Linked DNA regions of Homo sapiens: region 2 is linked to region 1. The links are contacts of gene promoters, found by promoter capture Hi-C in blood cells and fetal thymus (Javierre and others, 2016). All regions are on one chromosome and are shown on one strand. The core of a region is centred on a gene start or on the middle of the fragment in contact, and the rest is flanking DNA. Distances in the headings are between cores, read along the strand shown.

Evidence for each region. Contacts are between HindIII fragments. The CHiCAGO score rates a contact against its expected background, and 5 or more counts as called.
Region 2: a contact is called between a fragment that was not itself captured here and the fragment with the promoter of GLRX3 in region 1, in 1 of 17 cell types (total CD4 T cells). The highest score is 5.0, in total CD4 T cells.

Annotation. Positions count from the first base shown.
Region 1 is chr10:130,133,791-130,140,514 of GRCh38, forward strand. GLRX3 (glutaredoxin 3) reads left to right here and starts at 2,601. Exons shown (of 11, transcript NM_006541.5): 1 at 2,601-2,722. The coding sequence starts at 2,631. It overlaps LOC105378561 (a long non-coding RNA gene), which reads right to left and starts at 2,581. Exons shown (of 6, transcript XR_001747659.2): 1 at 1-2,581. RefSeq lists a silencer at 2,583-3,182 and enhancers at 3,383-3,432, 3,711-4,346, 4,347-4,981. The HindIII fragment of the contact is 5,217 bases long and covers 1-3,940 here.
Region 2 is chr10:129,479,466-129,486,189 of GRCh38, forward strand. The region is part of intron 1 of MGMT (O-6-methylguanine-DNA methyltransferase); the gene reads left to right. Among named protein-coding and RNA genes, the nearest start is that of MGMT, 16 kb to the left of the region's middle. The HindIII fragment of the contact is 5,048 bases long and covers 1,406-6,453 here.

The sequences.
Region 1 (6,724 bases), core at 1,351-3,850:
TACAGATCCTGTGTACACTTTCTTCCGATGACAACACCTTGCAAAACTGTAATACTGCAACCAGGATGTTGATATTTATAAACAATCGACTGATCTTTTTCAGATTTTCCCAGTTTTACTTGTACTCGTGCGCGCGTGCATGCGTGTGTGTGTGTGTGTGCGTTGTTTTTGTTTTTGAGACAGGGTCTTGCTCTGTCGCCCAGGTTAGTGGGCAGTAGCAGTGGCAGGATCATGGCTCACTGCAGCCTCCAACTCCCAGGCTCAAGTGATCTTCTCACCTCAGCCTCTCACCTACCTGGGCCCACAAGTGTGAGCCACCATGCCTGACTCATATATATATATATATTTTTGTAGAGACCGGGTCTTCCTATGTTGCCCGGCTGGTCTCCAACTCCTCGGCTCAAGTGATCCTCCTGTCTGGGGTTTCCAAATTGTTGGGATTACAGGTGTGAGTCAGAGCACCCAGCCAAGTTCTATACAATTTTATCATGTTTAGTTTGTGTTCTCACCACCACAGGCAAGATACAAAATGGTTCCTCATCACTCTCCTGTTGCATTTTAAATAACACAATTTACCGTGTTCAATACCATGTATTTCTCCAGGTGAGGTATACATGTGACAGGCTCCAAAAGGCTTTTAAACACCACAGTAGTGCTGCCCAAGAAAATTCAAGGGCCACGAATGAAAGTTGCCTATGAAATTAGACATTTCTCAGGAGCCAAAGGTAAAAGAGACCAATTTAAATAATATATTTCAGAAAACCGAATATATCCAAATATCCTCATTTCAACATGTAATCAATATAAAAAGTATGAATGATATGCTACTTTTCTCGTACGAAGTCTTTGCAATCCAGTGAGCCCAGTCCTCTGGCAGCTGTTAGCATGGACTGAGTACCTCCTATGTGTCTGACTCTGATCCAGGCACTGAGACACAGATCAGCTCCTGCCCTTTAAGAACACAGGCCAATGGAGGACAAGCACAGTTCTACAACATGAGACAGGCCACGGTAGAAGCAAGCAAAGGAGGCCTGGGAACACCTGGCTAGTAGGGAAGGCTCTGTGGGGGCTTGGCCTCAAAGCCCAGGGACAGCAGGGGGACCAGTCAGAAGGAGCCCCAAGTGTCTGGGTGGGAGCGATGGTGTTCCCTGAGATGGGAACCAAGAGGAGAGGCACTTTGGAGGGAAGGCCCAGTGTGGTTTGGGGATATCCAATAAAAGATGGCCCCTCCTCAAAGTTAGTGGATGCTAGGCTCTGGGATGCAGGGGAGGGTTCTGGGCTTGCTATTGAGGTTTCCCTGGAGGTTGATGTCACTGGGGGCATGGAGATTACTCAGGCCAGAAGGTGTGTGGGAAGCATGGGGTGTGGGGTACAGAGTACACCACATGGAGAGCCAACATCAGGGGGATTCCCAAGGGAGAAAGACAAGCCAGGGATCATCCAAGGAGGCAAGACGGGAGGAGTGCAGGGATCTGTGGACCCACCCAGCCCCTTCTGTTCTGAGGTTACAATGGGTGATGGCTCTGTGGGGCTGCAATGAGTGGCGGCACGCGCGGAGGGCCAGGGGAGGAGGGACATGCTGTGGGCTCCGGGTTCAGGTCCCAGGACTGAATTGGAAGCACCCTGTCTGTGTTGAAGTTCAAGATCTACCACTTCTGTTCCCAGACCTCCCAGTTCTTCCTCACCTTTATGCAATTTCATTTTTGATAATTTCAGCTTCCTAAATGTACACATCTGACTTCACTTTCACTCACATGTCTCACCCCCACCCCTCCACCGGCCCCTTCTATTACAGACCCAGGAGACACAGGAAGTGCAAGGAAGGTCTGGAGCCCCAAAAGCCAGGAGCCTCAGGAGTCAGGTGTCCTGACAGCCAGGAACCCTGACACCCAGGAGCCCTGGCACCCAGGAACCCCAACAGCCAGAAGCCTCTACCACCAGGAGCCCTGACAGCAAGGAACCCCGACACCCAGGAGCCCCTACTACAGCCAGGAAGCCAGGAACCCTAACACCAGGAGCCCTGACACCCAGTCACCCCGACAGCCAGGAAGCCAACAGCAAGAAGCCTCTACCACCAGGAGCCCTGACAGCAAGGAACCCCGACACCCAGGAGCCCCTGCTATAGCCAGGAACCCTAACACCCAGGAGCCCCTACAGTCAGGAACCCCGACACCCAGGGGTCCCGACAGCCAGGAACCCCGACACCCAGGGGTCCCGACAGCCAGGGGCCATTACGGCCAGGAGCCCCGACAGCCAGGGACCTCGACGGCCAGAATCCACTACATCCAGAAGCCCTTATAACCGGGAACCTCCATAGCCAGGAGCCCCTACAGCCAGGAGCCCCTTCAGCCAGGGAGCCCCGAAAGCCAGGAGCCCCGACAGCCAGGAACCATAACAGCCATGAACCCCGGGAGCCAGGAGGCCCGCAGCGGAGTGCCCAGACTTGGCAGGGTCAGAGCCCCCCAGCGGGATCCAGAGCCCGCCGCCGAGGCCCCTTTTGGGATTTCTCAGGCTCGGCAGCCTCAGCGCAGGCAGGGGCGGGGCTTTCCCTCGCGCAGCCGCTCAGCTCCCCGTGGCCCCGCCCACATCCGGCCGCCGGCACTGGATTGCTTCTGTCTGGCGGCGGCAGCATGGCGGCGGGGGCGGCTGAGGCAGCTGTAGCGGCCGTGGAGGAGGTCGGCTCAGCCGGGCAGTTTGAGGAGCTGCTGCGCCTCAAAGCCAAGTAAGCGGGGCGGCGAGCGGTAGGAGTGAGGAGCCGGAGCGGGAGCGGCCGCGAGACCGGGCCGGTGTGGGGCGGCGGGTGGCCCAGCCTGGCTTCTTGGTGCCCGGCTCCCTTCGGCCTCGGGGGACCGGGCCCGGCGCCACCCGTAGACTCCCCCGAGCCTCCGCGTGAGTGGCCCGAGCCGCAGGTTCCCCGCCCCGGAACAGCGAGCAGGGCGCGAGGCTCGCCTGGAAGCCCCGGCCCCAGCCCTGGCTCCGACCCCGACGGCTGTCCAAGCCCGGGGGACGCGACCTTCCCGGCCTCTGGCCTGGGCGGCCCCGCCGCGGGACGGAGGCGGTGGTGACTCAGCCGTGCCGCAGTGGCGGGGCGGGGGACGGGGCGGCGCCGAGACCCCGGCCCTCCGCGCCACGGAGCGGGACCCACGGCTGCGGGCTCCACCTTTCCTGTGCCCGCCGGGAGGGAGCGGCAGGCTCGGCGTCGGCCCATTGCTCTTCAGCCTCCCTTCAGGAACGCCCCTGTCGCAGGAAGAGCGGCGAGGGAAGGCCCCGTTGCATTAGCTAGGCCTGGCTGCCTTTTGAAGTCAGCCTTTAAAGTTTGTTGGACAGCAGGTAGCCTCAGTCTTCAGACTTAACCTGTTGCCGGAGACAGAGATTTCCTGTTCCATGAACTGGTGTAGTGAGAGTCTGTTCAGATTTGGCGCCGGTGTCCAGGTCTTCAATCCCTGGGAAGACTACAAAAGGAGATCCAGAGGAATGCATAGAAAGCGTTTTCTGGGTGGACTAGAAGCTCTGAACTGCAAGCATGCTTACGAGTAAATGCTTACTAGCGTGCGTGCCTGCAGGGAAAGGTCTGCACGTGGACTCTCCGTGATAATACCACCTCACATTGTAGACTACTCCAAGGACTGAGTTGTTCTCTTAGTTGTATTATTAGCGGTTGTTATGGGAACTCTTATGTCGGATTGCCTGGGATCCAGTCCCACCGCAGCCACTCAGTAGCCATGTAACCCCTGGGCACGTTTCATGCCCAAGCCTCAGTTTCCCGACGGTGACATAGATTAGCACCTGTTAGTACCTCAGGGTTGTTGTGAGGGTTAAATGAGATGACGTATGTAAAATACAAATAATACAATGCCTAGTATGCAGGAAGCACTCAGTAGATGTTGGCACTTAGTATTTCAGTAGGAAGTAGAATGGTTCATGGAATTCACAGGCAAAAAGCTTTGTTTTGTTTTGTTTTTGAGACAGGGTCTGGCTCTGTCACCCAGGCTGCAGTGTAGTGGAGCGATCACGGCTCCCTGCAGCCTCCGCCTCCCAGGCTCAAGTGATCGACCCACCTCATCCTCCCGAGTAGCTGGGACCACAGGTGCTCACCACCACGCCCGTCTAATTTTTATTTTTTTTTATAGAGACGAGGTCTCGCCATGTTGCCCAGCCTCGTCTCGACCTTCTGGACTCGAGCGATCTGCCCTCCTCAGCCTCCCAAAGGGTTGGGATTACAGGTGTGAGCTACCACGTCCGGCCAGAAATGCTTATTGATCTAAATTTTGTTTTGTTTGTTTTCGAGACAGGCTGTTGCTCTGTTGCCCAGGCTGAGTGCAGTGGCGTGATCTCGGCTCACTGCAGCCTCTACCTCCTGGGTTCAAGCGATCCTCCCACCTCAGCCTCCTGAGTATCTGGGACTACACGTGCGGTCCACCACGCTGGGCTAATTTGTGTATTTTTCGTAGAGGCAGGGTTTCCTCATGTTGCCCAGGCTGGTCTCTGGAACTCCTGAGCTCAAGTGATTCGCCTGCCTCGGCCTTGTAAAGTATCGGGATTACAGGCTTGAGCCCCCGTGACCTGCCCTGTTGATCTAAATTGAGTGAAATTTTGCCGACTGAATTTGAATTAGAGGCAAGTAGTACTCTGATTTTGCAATGGAGAGTGCAGGTGAGATGGGGTGTTGCCTTTGGAAATGGGGAGGGGTGCGAGTTACTGACTAATGGTTAGAAATGCTTTATGGGGGTGATGAAATTAAAGTGTTATTTAAACAGCTCTTTAGGCATTTCAGGTTTACCTGGGAAATTGTTACGGAAAAAAGCAGGGGTTGGGGAGGGACATGTGACATTTACTCACTGATGGAAGCTGGGCTCTGACTCATCCAGTACAGATCAGCACAATCACAGGAGTCACCAGAAGTGGCCTCTTGAAATGAGCAGGTCTTGTGTGGACCTGCCCTAAGTAAACGTTTTGAATTTACCATCACCTGAAAGGCTGTTTTGTCTGTTTTACATGTTTGTTTTAAATGCTTCATGTTTTAAAAAGTCCTTAAACTATCAAAATGAATAAAAGTGTTTTTTTTTTTTTTTTTTTTTGGGGGGGAGACAGAGTCTCTCTCTGTTGCCCAGGCTGGAGTAGAGTGCAGTGACACAATCTTGGCTCACTGCAACCTCTGCCTCACGGGTTCAAATGATTCTCCTGCCTCAGCCTTCTGAGTAGCTGGGATTACAGGTGCCCGCCACCACGCCTGGCTAATTTTTGCATTTTTAGTAGAGATGGGTTTCACCATGTTGGCCAGGCTGGTCTTGAACTCCTGACCTTAGGTGATGGGCCCGCTTCCCAGCGTGCTGGGATTACAGGCATGAGCCACTGCGCCCGGCCAAAATGGATAAAAGTTTAAATGTAAGTACCATTTGGATGTTGTATCCTTGCCGCTGGCCTGTACTTGAAATGGCCCAGGAAACAATGTGCACTTTCCTTAGTGACTAGTTCAAACGGACACGTGATAAATGATGTGTGGCATCTGGGGAAGGAGCACATTTCTGCAGCTTTTTTGGTGAAGATGGAGACATTTAAGAATATTAGGCCGGGCGCGGTGGCTCACGCCTGTAATCCCAGCACTTTGGGAGGCCGAGGTGGGTGGATCACGAGGTCAGGAGATCGAGACCATCCTGGCTAACACGGTGAAACCCCGTCTTTACTAAAGAAAATACAAAAAATTAGCCAGGCATGGTGGCAGGTGCCTGTAGTCCCAGTTACTCGGGAAGCTGAGGCAGGCGAATGGCATGAACCTGGGAGGCGGAGCTTGCAGTGAGCCAAGATCGTGGCACTGCACTCCAGCCTGGACGACAGACGAAGACTCCATCTCAAAAAAAAAAAAACCAAAAAAAGAATATCATGGTGGCTTACACCAGCAAACCCAGCACTTTGGGAGGATGGCTTGAGGCCAGGAGTTTGAGAGTAGCTTGAACAACATAGAACCCATCTCTACAAAAAATAAAAAAAGTAGCCAGGCATGGTGATGCATGCCTGTAGTCCCCAGCTACTCAGGAGGCTGAGGTGGGAGGATTGTTTGAGCCCAGGAGTTCCAAGCTGCGGTGAGCTATGATCCTGCCACTGTACTCCAGCCTGGGTGACAGAGTGAGACCCTGTCTCAAAAAACAAAAAGTGCCCGAATTTTAGTACTTGTGTTGATGTAATAATTTTAAATCTACTTTCCAAATCATCGCTTCTCCAATTTTAAAATTTGACATGAATTGAAATTTTTTTCTTTTAAGTAGTTGAATCAGATATTTACATAAGTTGCTGAAATCTCAGCTGGTTTGTACAATGGGGTTATTAATATCCATTTGCAGAGTAAGCAGGTTTAGTATATGATATGTTTAATAAGCAGTAGCTGGTATCTGCAGATGAATGTAGTAGCAGAATACTATAATAATTGAAAAACAACTATTTGCTGATGAAGAGCTGAAGTTTATTACATTGTCTAAAGTTACATTAGTCAGGATTTGAATGTGGTTTTTGTCTGATGGTTTTTCTCCAACAATGCTCCAGGCATATGGGGCTATCCATTAAGATGGAAAGAATACTGTAACATGTAATCCAAAAGGGGATAACGTTTATATTTGTTTCAGATATAGTATGTCCTTATAATATTGGACATTATGTGCTTAATTGAGAAATGGAAGGTAAGCATTAAATAGGAGAATATTGTGGATAATTTCAACTAACAATATCATGT
Region 2 (6,724 bases), core at 2,680-5,179, 650 kb before region 1:
TTGCTGTGCCAAAGTATTCTGCTCGTTTTTTCCAACTTTAAGCTAAAATAGTGAAAAGTTCTCGAGTGGATCCTTATGAGAACGTCTCCCAAAGAGAATCAGTCATGTTTTTGTGGAAAAGTTTGTGTGAGTGATGATGGTAGAGTGGAGGTGGTGGAAAGCTTTTATGAAAAAAGGGAGAACAAGCATTTTCCTACGAGGGCAGACAAGAACCCTCATGTTCTTCCTTTGGTGGAGGACATGAGTGTGTTTCTCCGTTCTCACGTTTGTAGAAGGTGAGATTAGGTCCCTAAAGGGCCCTCTCCGTGTTGTGGAGGGGTTGGGGTGGGGGTGGAGTGGTGGGGTGGGATCTGTGTTTGCCCTCCTTGCTGGGGGTCCTCACATTGTTTGGTCTCAGAGCCTTTTTGCACAGTTAAAACTTATGAGGGATCCCAAAGAGATTACCTGAGTTATATATTAATACCCCATTAGAAATTAGCAGTGAGAAATTTTAAAATATTGATTCATTTAGACAATAAACCTATTAGCTTTTTGCATAAATAACATTTTAAAATAAAAACTAGCTATATTTTCCATAAAAACCAATTAGGGAGGAATGTTATCAGTTTCCATTTTTTAAAACTTCATAATGCCTGGATGAATAGAAGACAGCTAGCTTCTCCTGCTTCATTCAGTCTGTTGTGATATGTTTGGGTTGAAGCGCATCAAGAGAATCTGGCCTCACTCAGGTAAGTAATTAAAAGGGAATAGTGTTTTAACAGCTTCCTCAGATAATTGAGGATGTTCTCCTTTGACACTACATCAGGACTCGGCAAGTGGTAATTTCCTGAGGGTTTGTAGCAGGGTGCAATCCGAGACCCGCTCTGTGAACTTTTTGCTCTCTATGACGTTAAAATCCACAGGTATGCCTTGCACTTTGAGTGATTTTGTAGCGTCTTTCATCGGCCCTGTGGAAAATGTTGCTTCATTGAGTTATACAGATCTTTCAAATATTGATGTTTCCTAATACAGTCCTAAAAATAATATTTGTTAATATCACCACCTTTCTCCTTAGGAAAGTCATTTAGTATTGGGAAGCCATGGTGGTGGGTACCAGTATTCTAACATTTTAATCATCACTTGAAAGTTCTGGCTGGGCACACTGGCTCATGACTGTGATTCCAGCACTTTGGGAGGCTGAGGTGGGAGGATCACTTGAGGCCAGGAGTTGGAGACCAGCCTGGGCAATATAGCAAGATCCCGTCTCTACAAAAACATTTTTTAAAAAGAAAGTTCCCCTTTTATCATCAGCAGCAGATACTGTCAGTTGTGTTCATTACAGGTACAGACTATTCATTTTTGAGAAAACATCCGCCAGATATGCAAGTCTGAATAACTGTTGTTTGTGAGTCATTCACACTAGCAAAGCTTTTGTTCTAAAATGAAGTTGGTAAGTTCATCAGCAGTCTCTGCCATTTGCGGAGCCCTCCTGGTGGCAGCGTCATTCTGGTTTGTGGCAGAAGTGCTTTGCTGCGCTTCCCGTTAGGTCACAGAATGTTTAGAAGGTCAAGATTTAGTGAAGTTTGATTGCTTCCTCAGGGCATTCTGAAGTGAACCTGCCTGTTGCCCTGACCGTGCCTTCCTCCTAGAGTTTGGTGTCAATATCTTGGCCCTTGCGGAGGCATCCACGGTTTTCCCCAGCATGGCTTCTGTGTTGTCTTTCACCGTGCGGTGTGTGGTCAGCCATAGTTTGTGCAGGTGCCCTTTAGCAGATGGGGGATGTTTTACTCTTTTCTGCAGTGAATATGGTGGATAACTCTCATTGGTTTCCATGTCTTCAACCAATTTTGTGTTCCTGGATAAATGCCCACCTGGACTTGGTGAATTACTGTTTTCATAGATTGCTGGATTTGACGTGTGGATATGTTTGAGGATTGTGTGTCTGTTCATGAGAGGTGTTGGTCAGCAGCATTCCTGGAGTGTCTGTCTGCTTTGTTAGGAGGGCAATCTTGCACTCATAAAATGAGGCCTCTTCTATATTTTGGATTAGTTTGTGTACCGTTAGCATTGTCTCTTCTTTAAATGCTTCATAAGATTTACCAGTGAAGCCATTTGTGTTTGAAGTTTTCTTTGTGAAAATAACATTAACTATGAATTCAGTTTTTTTTAGTAGCTATAGGGCCATTCAGGTCATTTATTTCTTCTTGAGTGACTTTTTGGGATTTTGTATTTGTCAAGGAATTTGACCATTTCATCTAAGTTTGTTGAATTTATTGGCCTAAAGTTATTTTTATATTCCTTTATTATCCTTTTAATGTCTGTGGGATTTTGAGTCATGTCCTTATTTTTATTCCTGATATTGGTAATTTGCACTTTGTCCCCTTTTTTGCTAACTGGTCTGGCTAGAGGTTTATCTGTTTCTTTTCAGAGAGCCAACTTTCGTTACTTGATTTTTCTCTCTTACTGATTTCTCCTGTTTATTATTGCTTTCTTGTGCTTACTTTCAGTTTAGTTTGCTTTCTTTTTTGTAGTTTCTTAGGGTAGAGGCTTAGATCATTTGGTTTTCCTTTCTTCTTTTCTCATATAAACATTTAATGCTAAAAATTCTCTCTAAGCACTGCTTTAGGTGTGCTCACAGATAGACATGCTGTGTTTTCATTTTGATTCAGAGTGGCGTATTTCCCAATTTTCCTTGTGGTTTCTTCTTTAATGCTTGGGTTATTTATTAGTACATCATTTAATTTCCAAGAATTTGGGGATTTAAAAAATATTTGGGTACTTTCCCAGTATTTTTCTGTTATTGATCTGCAGGGGTGAGTTACCTTGTAATCAGAGGACATACCTGTTATGATTTTAATCCTCCTAGATTTGTTGAGAGTTGTTTTACAGCCCAGAATATGGTCTACCTTGGTGGATGTTTGAAAAGTGTATACTCTGTGGTTCTTGGGTGGAGTGCTCTTTAAATGTAGTTGGGTAAGGTTTGTTGATAATGCTCTTCAAGCCTTCTATATCCTTATTGAATTTTGTTTCCCTATTCTAAAAATTATTAGGAGTATTGACATCTCCAGCTATGATTGGAGACTTATTACCCCTTTCAGTTCTGTTGGTTCTTGGTTCATCTGTTCTAAGTGATTTCATTAGGTGCATACATGTTTAGAATTTTAACATCCTCATGGGGAATTAACCTTTACTCTTATGAAATGGCCTTCTCTAGTTTTGTTGTCATATTCCTTTTTTGAAATTATTTGATATTAGGATAGCCACTCCAGCTTTCTTTTGATTAGTGTTTCTGTGGTAACTGTTTTTCCATTCTTTTATGTTGAACCTGTTCTTGTCATTACATTTAATGTGTGTTTCTTGTAGAAAACACAGTTGGGTCTCTTGCTTTAAAAAATCTAATCTGACAATGTCTTTGTAAAATTGGAGTATTTAGACCATTTACATTTAATGTAATTATTAATATGGTTGGGTTTAAGTATACCATCTGGCTGTTCATTTGTCATTCACCAATTTGTTCTTTTTGCCCTTCCTCCATCTTCCGTAGCTTCTTTTCAGTTATTTGGATATGTTTTTGAATGATTCCAATTTAACATTCTGTCTACACTGTTGGCTTGTTAGCTATCTCTCTTCTTTTTTAGTGGCTGCTTTAGGATGTGTAATGTACATACTTAGCTTATGCTTATCATAATCTGCATTCATGTGATATAATACAACTTCACATGCAGAATAAGCACCTTAACAAAAGTATGCTTCAATTTCTCTCATCCCATTTTTTGTTATATTATTGCTACATATGTAATATTCTCCAATATATAGAGTTACTATTTTTATGTTGGGCAATCAGTTTTCTTTTAAAGAGATTTAAAAAATCCAGAATTTACATTTATTTGCATATTTACTGTTTTTTGAAATCCTCATTCCTTTGTGTAGATCCTAGTTTCCATTGAGTACCATTTTTTTTACACCTGAAAACCTTGTACCATCATTTCTCAAGTGCAGGTCTGCTGGTGTCTGAATTGTCATGCATTTGTTTTTGTTTTTTGAAAAAAGCCTTTGTCTCACCTGCATTCTTGAAAAAATGTGAATTCTAGGTTGACCTGTTTTTTTGCTTTTTAATACTTTAAAGATGTTGTTCCATTGTGTTCTGCCTTGCATAGTTTCTGATGATCAGTTTGCCGTCATTCTTAAATTTGTTCTTCTGTATGTAATCTGGCATTTTTGCCACCTCTGGCCACTAAGGTTTTCTCTTTGTCACTTGTTTTCAGCTGTTTGATTATTTGTTTTTATGTTTCTTCTGCTTGGGTTTCACTGAGCTTCTTGCATCTGTGAGAATGGGTTACATATCCCTTATCTGAAATGGTTGGGACTAGAAGTGTTTCTGATTTTGGATTTTTTTTGGATTTTGGAATATTTGCATAGATAGATAGGTAGATAAATAGATATATAGATAGATAGATATAGATATAGATACCTTGGGGATGTGACCCAAGTTTAAACATGGAATTTTTGTTTCACATATACCTTATCCACATAGCCTGCAGGAAATCTTATGTATTATTTTAAATAATTTTGTGCATGTTACAAAATTTTGACTGTATTTCAACTGAGACCTGTCATACAAGGTCAGGTGTGGAATTTTCCAATTGTGGCATTGTGTTGGTGCAGTTTTTGGGTTTTGGAGCATTTTGGATTAGGTGTGCTCAACCTTGTTTTACCTCATATAGATTTTTCATCAGATTTGAGGAAATGTCACTGAATATTTCTTCAGATATTTTTCCTGCCTCCCCTTTTTCTGAGGCTCCAATTGCGCATGTGCTGCTTCATACTGTCCTGTGTCTCCCTGAGCCCTGCTCATTTCCTCAGTCTTTTTGTGTTTCTGTGCCTTGATAGTTTAAAAAACGTTATTTTCTCATTGTTGCTATTTTTTCCTTCTGCTGCATCTAATCTGTACATCCTATCGATTGTATTTTTTACTTTAGAGACTGCATTTTACATCTCTATATGCTCCATATGGGCCTTTTAAAATATCTTCTATTTCTCATGTCATATGTGGGTTCTCCTCTATCTTCTCAAATATGGAGCATGTTTATAAGAACTGTTTTTATGTCCCAGTCCCCTTGTTTTACGCATCTCTACTTTTCTGGGTTTGGTTCTGTTGAATGATTTTTCTCCTGATTGTGGGTTATATCCCTCTGCTTCTCATGTGTGTGTGTTTTAAATGGGATCCTAGACATTGAGAGTTTTGTTGTGGAGTGCTAGATTATGTTGTCTTTTAAAAAACAGTTTTGGACTTTGTTCTGCTGCAGGTTCAGTTTCTTGAAATTGTTTGTATCCTTTCAAGGTATCATGCTTTTTTTAAAAAAAGGTTTTGTTAGGGCAGGTCCAGACCAGGTTTTAGTCCAGGGATAGTTTAGTCCTACTATTTACATAATGTCTTTACTTTATAAGGGTGTGTGTATGTGTATATATGTATGTGTGTGTGTATTATATATATGTATGTGTGTATTTTATATATGTGTGTATTAAATATATATGTATTACATATATATGTATATATATGAAAAATAAGGCAGCTCTGAGGTCTTTACCTGATGAATGTTGTATTAGGAGATCTTTCCACACTGGCTGGTGAGAACATGAAATATTCCCAGCTCTGTCTGTGATCAGGAATTATTTGGGCTGCTACTTCTGGGCATCTTTCTTTGACCTCAGGGAGTTCCTTCTCAAGCAGTGTCTCAGTAGTTAGGCAGAGGCCACAGGGACTCTTCTGGAGATGCCTGGCGTGTTCTCTGAGTAGGCCCTTCTTCCCTGGTACTCCATCCTGATGATTCTAGGTGTTTTGTTCTTTTTGAATTCTAATCTCTCTCCCCACTTTGGTGAGAGCACCCACTGGTTTTGTGCCAGATGACCCTCCTCCTCCTTGGCACAGCCTGGAGGCTGCATCCAGCCGTTCTCTGGCGGCTGGCTCACTTCACTTCCCTTTCCTTGGGGAGCATAGCCCCTGGCTGCTGTTGTCCTTGTTCTGAAGACCATTGTTTTATATAAAAGTTGAGCACCCCTAATTCAAAATCTGAAATGCTACAGCATCTGAAAATTTTTGAACATTGACATGCTGCTCAAAGCTGATGCTCAAAGGAAATGCTTATTGGAGCATTTTGGATTTTTGGATTAGGGATGCTCCAACTGTAAGTATTTGCAAATATTCCCAAATCCAGAAAAATCTAAAACCTGAAGCACTTCTGGTTCCCAGAATTTCAGGCTACTCATCCTGGACTTTATTTCGTTTTAGCTGTTACATGTGGTTCTTGCTGCTCTGTCATGGCTAGAAGTGGGATCCCCACCAAGTTATTAGTGGACTCATAAAAATAAAAGAGAGGCCTGCTGGGCTGTTACCAGACTGAGATTGCTCAGATTACACAAAGCCCTCTGGCCCTGACCCCAGACTTTTTACCAGCCTGAAGTGGGTGAAAAGAAAGCTTCACTGACTGCTTTCTAGGCATGTTTAAGCCTGCTTATTCTGGCCCTCACAGAATAAGAATTCAAAGGACAATAATTTTCAAGAAGACTTAATTTAAGTTCATCTACCTTATTAGACTTGATATAGATAGATAGCCTTTTTAATTTTTTTTTCTCATGGAAACAGAGTTGAAGAAAACTAATTTACCTTCTAAATTTAGGCACAGCTAACCAAGTCAAGGTGTGGTTCTGTTCTTCTCTGTTCTCTTCTCTTCTCTTTTTTTTTTTT